2 separate regions of the Homo sapiens genome follow, and region 1 is linked to region 2. Evidence: promoter capture Hi-C in 16 types of primary human blood cells and fetal thymus (Javierre and others, 2016). All regions are on one chromosome and are shown on one strand. The core of a region is centred on a gene start or on the middle of the fragment in contact, and the rest is flanking DNA. Distances in the headings are between cores, read along the strand shown. Region 1 has its middle 21 kb from the start of OGDHL. Region 2 holds the start of SLC18A3 (solute carrier family 18 member A3).

Region 1 (4,014 bases), core at 1,175-3,674, 170 kb after region 2:
TCTCACAGTCTGCACAGCAGAAACAGATAAATAAACGGGAAATCATGACCCAGCATAATAAGTCATGTCTGATGGAAACTGCAGGGCCCAGGGCCTAAGAAGGGCAGATTTTAATGTCTTGAAGAATTTAAGCTGACCACCAATGTTGAGAGGTGAAGCCAGCTGGACTTCCTGGGTCAAGTGGGGACTTGGAGAACTTTTCTGTCTAGCTAGAGGATTGTAAATGCACCAATCAGCACTCTGTGTCTAGCTAAAGGATCATAAATGCACCAATCAGCACTCTGTAAAATGGACCAATCAGCACTCTGTAAAATGGACCAATCAGCAGGACGTGGGTGGGGACACATAAGGGAATAAAAGCTGGTCACCCCAGCCAGCAGCAACAATGCTCTGATCCCCTTCCGTGTTGTGCAGGCTTTGTTCTTTGGGTCTTCACAATAAATCTTGCTGCTGCTCACTCTTTGGGTCTGTGCCACCTTTAAGAGCTGTAACACTCACTGTGAACCTCCATGGCTTCATCCTTGAAGTCAGCGAGACCAAGAACCCACTGGAAGGAACCACCTCCGGACACATGTGAGTCAAGAAGAAGGGCAATAGAACTTTTGAGCAAATAGCGATGCACCTGAAATTTTTTAAAAGTTAGCTTTCAGAGGCTAAAAGAGGCCTTTGAGTCTCCCAGACACAGGAAGTGTATTACAGGGAGACTAGTTCTAACCATCAGGTTCAAGAGCAAGGGGTTGCACATGTAAGGAAGGAGTTGCCAGGGGTCCTGGTTTCTGATCCTAGCTTGAATGCACTCTGCTTGTGGAGTCCTGAGAGGCCAGGTGGCTTCTCTGGGCTCAGTTTCCCTACTTGGGAATAGGTATAGACCAGAGGATCTCTGCAAGCTTCTTTCCAGATAGGACATGCTATGGCTGCTTAATATTTTTAAACAGGACAGAACTGCATCATCTCAAATGCTCATGGCAAGTCAACTCCACTGTATGCATTTTATCACTTCATGATATAATTTAATTTTGCTTGTGAGCTCATCGTACATATCAAACCACATGCAAAAAAAAAAAAAAAAAAGCCAAGCCAGAGAGAACATAAAAAAAGACAATGGCTTGAGGACATGATCTGGGGTCAAGAAATGAGACCTTTTTAACTCTTGAGTGCTCATGATGCAAAGTGAACCTGAGACCATCGAGGGATGACGAATGGATGCGAGCCACTCTTCCTCCACAAACTTCACCTTCCTTCCACCATCCTCAGAGTACCATGTCTAAAACTAGGATACTCATCAGTTGAATTGGATGGGAATGAAATCCAAGTCCCACCTCCATGGATTCCAGCCACACTCACTAAACATGAGAACAGGCAGAACGCACACAGAATGAGAAGTGGGCGTGTGAACAGGGGGCTGAAGTCTGGAAGGCACTGAGCAACAGAAGCTACCAGCTCTTTCGCCTTGAGAAAGCCTGGCTGTGCTTTGTATCTTGTCTGTAAATATCTGTTTACTGAGTTAAAATGCAAACAGTCTGGGTGTGCCTTAAAAGTGAACACCAAAAAGGAAAGGCCTAACCCAGTTCAGTGGCTCATGCCTATAATCCCAGTGCTTCAGAAGGCTCAGGTGGGAGGATTGCTTCAGGCCAGGAGTTTGACACCAGCCTGGGCAACACAACAAGATCCCGTCTCTATAAAAATTTAAAAATGTAGCCGGGCACAGTGGTGTGCACTTGTAATCCCAGCTACTTGGAAGCCTGAGGCAGGAGGATCTCTTGAGCCTGGAAGGTCGAGGCTGCAGTGAGCCATGATTGCACCACTGCACTCCAGCCTGGGTGACAGAACAAGACCCTGTCTTAAAAAAAAAAAAAAAAAAAAAAAAAAAGGAAGGGAGAGAGGGAAGGAGAGAAGGAGGAAAGGGAGGGGAGGGGGAGGGAAGGGGGAGGGAAGAGCGAGGGAAGGGGGAGGGGAGGGGAGAAGAAAGAGACCTGTGGGAAAGCTGATGTGAGCGTGACAAGGGAGGTGTCCTCATTCAACACATTGACTTTTGCAGTTTGCTCTGTGCTCAGGGCTGGGAACTCAGGGATGAGATAGCCAGTCGGTGTCCTGCTAAAGCAGAATGGTAAGACACACACACAAATGAGAACAAAACCCTGTGCTGAGAACACTGCATTCTTCCACTCGAAGCATTGCGTGGACCTGTAGCGGCAGCACCACCTGGGGGTTTGTTAGAAAAGAATCTTAGGCTCCAGAACCAGAATCTGCATTGTAGCAGGAACTCCAGGGTTTTAGAAGCATGGCTGCATAGGGTAAGGGGCCCTGGGGAGCTTACAGTGGGAGGAGAAGGGCTGATTCTGTCTAAGAGGGTCAGGGAAGGCCTCCCCCAGGAAGTCACATTTGGGCTGGATCTTCAAAGATGAGTAGGAACTTAATTTGAGAAGAGATGGAGGAAATTCCAAGCAGAGGAAGGGGTAGGATGAGATGGTGACAGACTGCAGAGAGAGATGATGCTGAACTGGAAACGGGGGCTAGAATCTGATTTTGAAGGCACCTGTACTCATCTACCATATTCAAGAATTTATGTTTTGTTTGTCTCCTGAGGATGAGAATCAAGTAAGGAGGGAGAACATTCTCCAGGCACCATGCTGACGTTTAATCAATGCAGGGTGTTCAGGGCACATTAGAGATGCTGATGACCTTGTTCACAGCGGAGATTTGCTCTCAGGGAAAATAGTAAAGACTGGTGGCTTTCAGGTCTGCTCACAGAGGGTGGGAGGGTCCTGTATTTAAAGGGAAACAGAAAAAAATGTTTCCATCTAAGGACAACTTCTTCTTTTTTTTTTTTTCCTGAAGGTGATAAAAGCAAGGGAATTATCAATTACTCTAAATGGTAGGAAGCCAAAATATGGTGCCAAAGGACTGGAAAGTAATTTTTCTTGGAGGCAAAGTAGCAACTGTTTAATCTTTTAAACAGCCTCATGGAAGGCCAAGGCAGAGAGAGAGAGAGAGAGCTTGCTTCGCCTTAGCAGAAACCTGCTTGTAACTCAGGACTCAGAAGCCTGGTGTTGTCCAAGGACGGTCCACAGACCGACTGGTCCCATGGCGGGTGGAGCCCACGCTGCCCAGGACCCCGGCTCTGGGAGCGATTGCCTTCCCCATGCAGGCCTGGGCCCTCCTTCAGCTCCCAACTGGCCAGATCCTCTCAATGACGAGCCAGAGGAAGCCATGTGCTTTTAAAAATGCCAGAGGACATTTGTCACACTCTGTTATCATAATGATTATTGATTGCTTAAGTGGTCTTGTGTGTGTGGAATAATATAGCACATCCAATCTAGCACAGATAATTCAGACAGCTCCCACTTTTAGAGATAATGTTGTCTTGGCATCTGAAGGTGTTTTATTGTAGCGACAGTCCTTGGGCCATTGGGACTGTGTATTGGGGGTATAGTATGTGAGAAGTAAAAGGAGAGCATTAGCAACCAGGACTAAACTATGCTGCAATGTGTAGAAGGAAAAAAAAAATGTGGGAGCTTCTGTTATTAGCACTCATTAAATGCTGGCCCTTTAATGAATGCTTTCTAGCACTCATCTCTAATTCATTCCACAACCCTACAAGAGAGCTGTCATTAGCCCCATTTTCAAATGAGTAACCTGGGGTCTGGTGAGGGTGGTTGTCAGGGCCCCGCAGCCAAGCTGTGCAGAGCTGGTGTTCAGGTCTAGGTCAGCCTGTTGTGGACCACAGCTCACCACTCTGACTTCCTGTAGTGTACTACCCTGCCATTCAGAAGTCTCTAAGATGCTGCAAGTTTGCTGAGAGTTTGTCTAGCCTTCAGAAAATTCACACAAAAGAAAAAAACAGGGAAAAGGCAGAAAACAGACAAAATCCACATAGGTAAAACATGAATTAAATATTAATTATTAAATAGCATACGATGTGTAAATTATATATAATCATATATAATAAATTTTTGTTGAAAAAGCTTCATTTTACAAAAGACTTCCACATAGGTTTTATGTATACAGCTTCTA
Region 2 (3,956 bases), core at 1,221-3,720:
TTCTTCAGCCACTAGACATAAAAAAAAATTGTCCTTCAAGTCCTCCTTCCTCCTTTCTTTAATCAGACAGGGGAAATAGCATGTGCATAAATAATAATTGTTTTGTAGGCTGGGAGACTGCCCCTTTAAGAGCCTCATAATGGGAGAGTCAGAAGAGCCCAGAGGTCTCAAACGGAAATGACTGGAGAACCAGCAAGTGGCATAAGTGTGTGAAGTCAGCTGGGGCGAGATTGGGATGTGCTGGAGAGTGTGCATGTACTGACGAAAGGCCATCAAATACAATTTAAAATAATTAGCCCACTCCAAAGAGTCTTCTGCAGCACGCACTTCTGCTAAGGGCTGCAGTGAGTGGGCTCTCACCTCAACCTGAACCAGACGGAGGCTGAGGCTGGGCCCCACTGAGGGGCTGTGACTTGCCCAAGGTCATCCAGGGCCAGGCCTGTGCCCACATTGGGACTCTTTTCCTCCCTCAGACAGAGGGCACTTCAGTCACTGCAGAGCAGGTGGCAGCAGCCCTTCAGTGGATGAGTTTCTCCTTTCCCAGGGTGACTGGGTGGGTGAAGGAATTGAGCAACAGGTGGCCAGGCTGCCGCCTCTCACCCTGACACATTGGTCCCCATCCCCTCATCCTACAGCCATCTCAGGGACAGATGGAGACATTCCAATGCCCTCCGGGTCCTCCACCAACCCAGACAGAGCCTGGAGTCACAATGCCCACCTAGCCAGAGGGATCAGCCAGCTAGCCAAGTGCCCCCTGTGTCTTTCATCTGTTCTTCACAAGACCCACAAGTGAAAAATGAGGATAAACCGCACATTCTACACACGATAACAACATAGCAAGTCCTTATACTGCTCTTACTGTGTGCCCGGCCCCCTTAGCAGTAGGTACTATTATTATTCAATTTTACAAAGAAACTAACTGAGGGACAGAGAGGCAAAGTAATTCCCTGCAGGTACTCTAATGAGTACGTGGCAGAGCTGGGAGCCATCCTGGTTGTCTGCCTCGAAAGACCACACTCTTTGCACTGCATCGCGGCACTTCCTGCGGGGTGGGGGGCACAATGGGAGAAGCATCTGCGTCTAATGCTGCTTTACTTTTGAGGCCAGAAAAATGGGAAGGCTCCCCTCTGACTCTGGAAGAGAGACGCAAACCGTAATCTCAACAACACAATCCCCACCTCCAACCTCAGCCGCCCTGGAGCCTCTCTCCCGCCAGTCCGCCCACTGGAACACGGGTTCCATGTGCCATCCAGGGTCAACGCCGCTCTGGGGACGCGTCAGGCCCAGCGCACAGCCTGGGCAGCTCAGCCTGTCAGCTGAGCACGGGCGCCTCAAGGGGTGCGGCCCTCTCAGAAGGAAGGTGAGTCTCCCTGGAGCCCCTGACGACAGCGAAGCGGCTGGGCGCTCTCCGGGGAGTGGGCGCGGCACCCAAGAAGGGTTTCTTACAGTTCCAAGAGAGGACCCCAGCCACAGTCACTCCAGAGCCCACCCGGGGCTTGGAGGAGGCTCTGGAAAATGAGGGATGGGGGAGTGTGCAGAACAGGGGGCGGAGGCTGGCAGGAGCCGAGGGAGGGCTTGGTCGGGTGCGAAGAGTGCCTGGGAGGAGTTAGAGTGGGGAGGGGGTGCGGCGGCGGGGAGAGAAGAGGCGGAGCTGGGGGACCAGACCGCTAAAGGAGAAAGGGGGATTCCAGGCAAGGGGAATGTGGCCAGGCAGTGCGGGAGGGCGGCAGCGGCCAGGCTAATATTCGCGACCCCGACTGGGGCGCGGCAACTTCTGCCCTCAGTCCCCACAAGCTCCCGGCCGCGATTCGCGGCCGAGAAATTCTGCGGAGGGGCCGGTGGGTCAGAGCCAGGCCAGGCAGTTGCTGAGCCTTCCCCTCCCCTCCTGGCGGGAGTGTGTGTGCAAGGGGCCAGGGGGCGGAGTCGGAGAAAGGGTTGGGGGTGTCCGTGTCCAGCGCTCCTCCGGACGCGGCTCCACAATCCAGCTGCGAGAACAGATGGACGCAGCGGCGGCTCACCTCGGGGGCTTCCTGCTCGCTGTGCGCCGAGGTCCAGGCTGAAGCGGAGATCGCAAGCCTCTGGCTCCCGCCTCTCCCAAGGGGCCTCGAGGAACCGGCTGCCGCGCCCCCTTCCCCAAGAGGAGAAGAGCGGGCGCTGACCCCGCGAGTCCTAGAACCGCGGGCGGGGGGCAGGCAGGGGGCGGGGGGCAGAGGGCCAGCTACCGGCGCGGAACGCCCATCCCAGGGGCTGGTTCAAGACTTCCACACCGAGAGCCCTTCCTGGGCCTCCAGCCCTGGAGCATCTGGAGAGCGGACCCCTGCCCGGCCACGCCCCGCCCCCGGCCCCCGCCCCGCCGACGTCGCATTAGCATGAGCGACGTAAGTGGCCCGGGCACCACTCGGGGGCTGGGACTCGCCGCGTCACAGCCCCGAGTGGAAGGGAAAAAAAAAGAGGAGGCGGCGGAGGAGGCAAGAGCCGACGCGAGGGGAGGGGAGCGCAGCGGCGGGGCTAACGGGCGGGCAAGCGGGCGGGCGGCAACAGCATGTCCCTCGGCCAGCGCGGGCGGCCTCTTAGCGCGGCGGGGGCTGCTCTGGGCGCGCCCCGGGCGAAGTGCGCCCAGTCTCCGGCCCCGGCCCCTCGGCGCGCCCGACTTCCCGGCCGCCCCTGAGCCCAGCAGCCGCGGGTCCCGGGATCGGCTAAGAGTAGCTGCAACGCCTCGCCGGACGGAGTCCTTTCCTTTCCCGGGACGCTGGGCCATGAGCTCCGCGGCCACCTGAGGCACAGGGGAGTCTGCTCGGCCAGGACAGCCTCCCCGAAGTCCCGTGCCCTCGCCTCTGCACTGCGGGACGCCAGCGCTCGGCCCTGGCGGAGGCGTCCTCGGAAGAGCATCGGGGTGGGGGCATGGAATCCGCGGAACCTGCGGGCCAGGCCCGGGCGGCGGCCACCAAGCTGTCGGAGGCTGTGGGCGCGGCGCTGCAGGAGCCCCGGCGGCAGAGGCGCCTGGTGCTTGTTATCGTGTGCGTGGCGCTGTTACTGGACAACATGCTGTACATGGTCATCGTGCCCATAGTGCCCGACTACATCGCCCACATGCGCGGGGGCGGCGAGGGCCCCACCCGGACTCCCGAGGTGTGGGAGCCCACCCTGCCGCTGCCCACTCCGGCCAATGCCAGCGCCTACACGGCCAACACCTCGGCGTCCCCGACAGCTGCGTGGCCAGCGGGCTCAGCCCTTCGGCCCCGCTACCCTACGGAGAGCGAAGACGTGAAGATCGGGGTGCTGTTTGCTTCCAAGGCTATCCTGCAGCTGCTAGTGAACCCCTTGAGCGGGCCCTTCATCGACCGCATGAGCTACGACGTGCCGCTGCTGATCGGCCTGGGCGTCATGTTCGCCTCTACAGTCCTGTTCGCCTTCGCCGAGGACTACGCCACGCTGTTCGCGGCGCGCAGCCTGCAGGGCCTGGGCTCAGCCTTCGCCGACACGTCTGGCATAGCCATGATCGCCGATAAGTACCCGGAGGAGCCGGAGCGCAGTCGTGCACTGGGCGTGGCGCTGGCCTTCATTAGCTTCGGAAGCCTAGTGGCCCCGCCCTTCGGGGGCATCCTCTATGAGTTCGCCGGCAAGCGCGTGCCCTTCTTGGTGCTAGCTGCCGTGTCGCTCTTTGACGCGCTGTTGCTGCTGGCAGTGGCCAAACCCTTCTCGGCGGCTGCACGGGCTCGGGCCAACCTGCCAGTGGGCACTCCCATCCACCGCCTCATGCTAGACCCCTACATTGCCGTGGTGGCCGGCGCGCTCACCACCTGTAACATTCCCCTCGCCTTCCTCGAACCCACCATTGCCACGTGGATGAAGCATACGATGGCGGCTTCCGAGTGGGAGATGGGCATGGCCTGGCTGCCGGCCTTCGTGCCTCATGTGCTGGGCGTCTACCTCACCGTGCGCCTGGCGGCGCGCTA

What was found. Contacts are between HindIII fragments. The CHiCAGO score rates a contact against its expected background, and 5 or more counts as called.
Region 1: a contact is called between a fragment that was not itself captured here and the fragment with the promoter of SLC18A3 in region 2, in 2 of 17 cell types (M2 macrophages and M1 macrophages). The highest score is 5.8, in M2 macrophages.

What each region holds. Positions count from the first base shown.
Region 1 is chr10:49,781,666-49,785,679 of GRCh38, forward strand. No RefSeq gene overlaps it. Among named protein-coding and RNA genes, the nearest start is that of OGDHL, 21 kb to the left of the region's middle. The HindIII fragment of the contact is 3,078 bases long and covers 886-3,963 here.
Region 2 is chr10:49,607,840-49,611,795 of GRCh38, forward strand. It overlaps SLC18A3 (solute carrier family 18 member A3), which reads left to right and starts at 2,471. Exons shown (of 1, transcript NM_003055.3): 1 at 2,471-3,956. The coding sequence starts at 2,902. It also overlaps a transcript of CHAT not described here. RefSeq lists enhancers at 808-1,603, 1,604-2,398, 3,443-3,956. The HindIII fragment of the contact is 17,270 bases long and covers 1-3,956 here.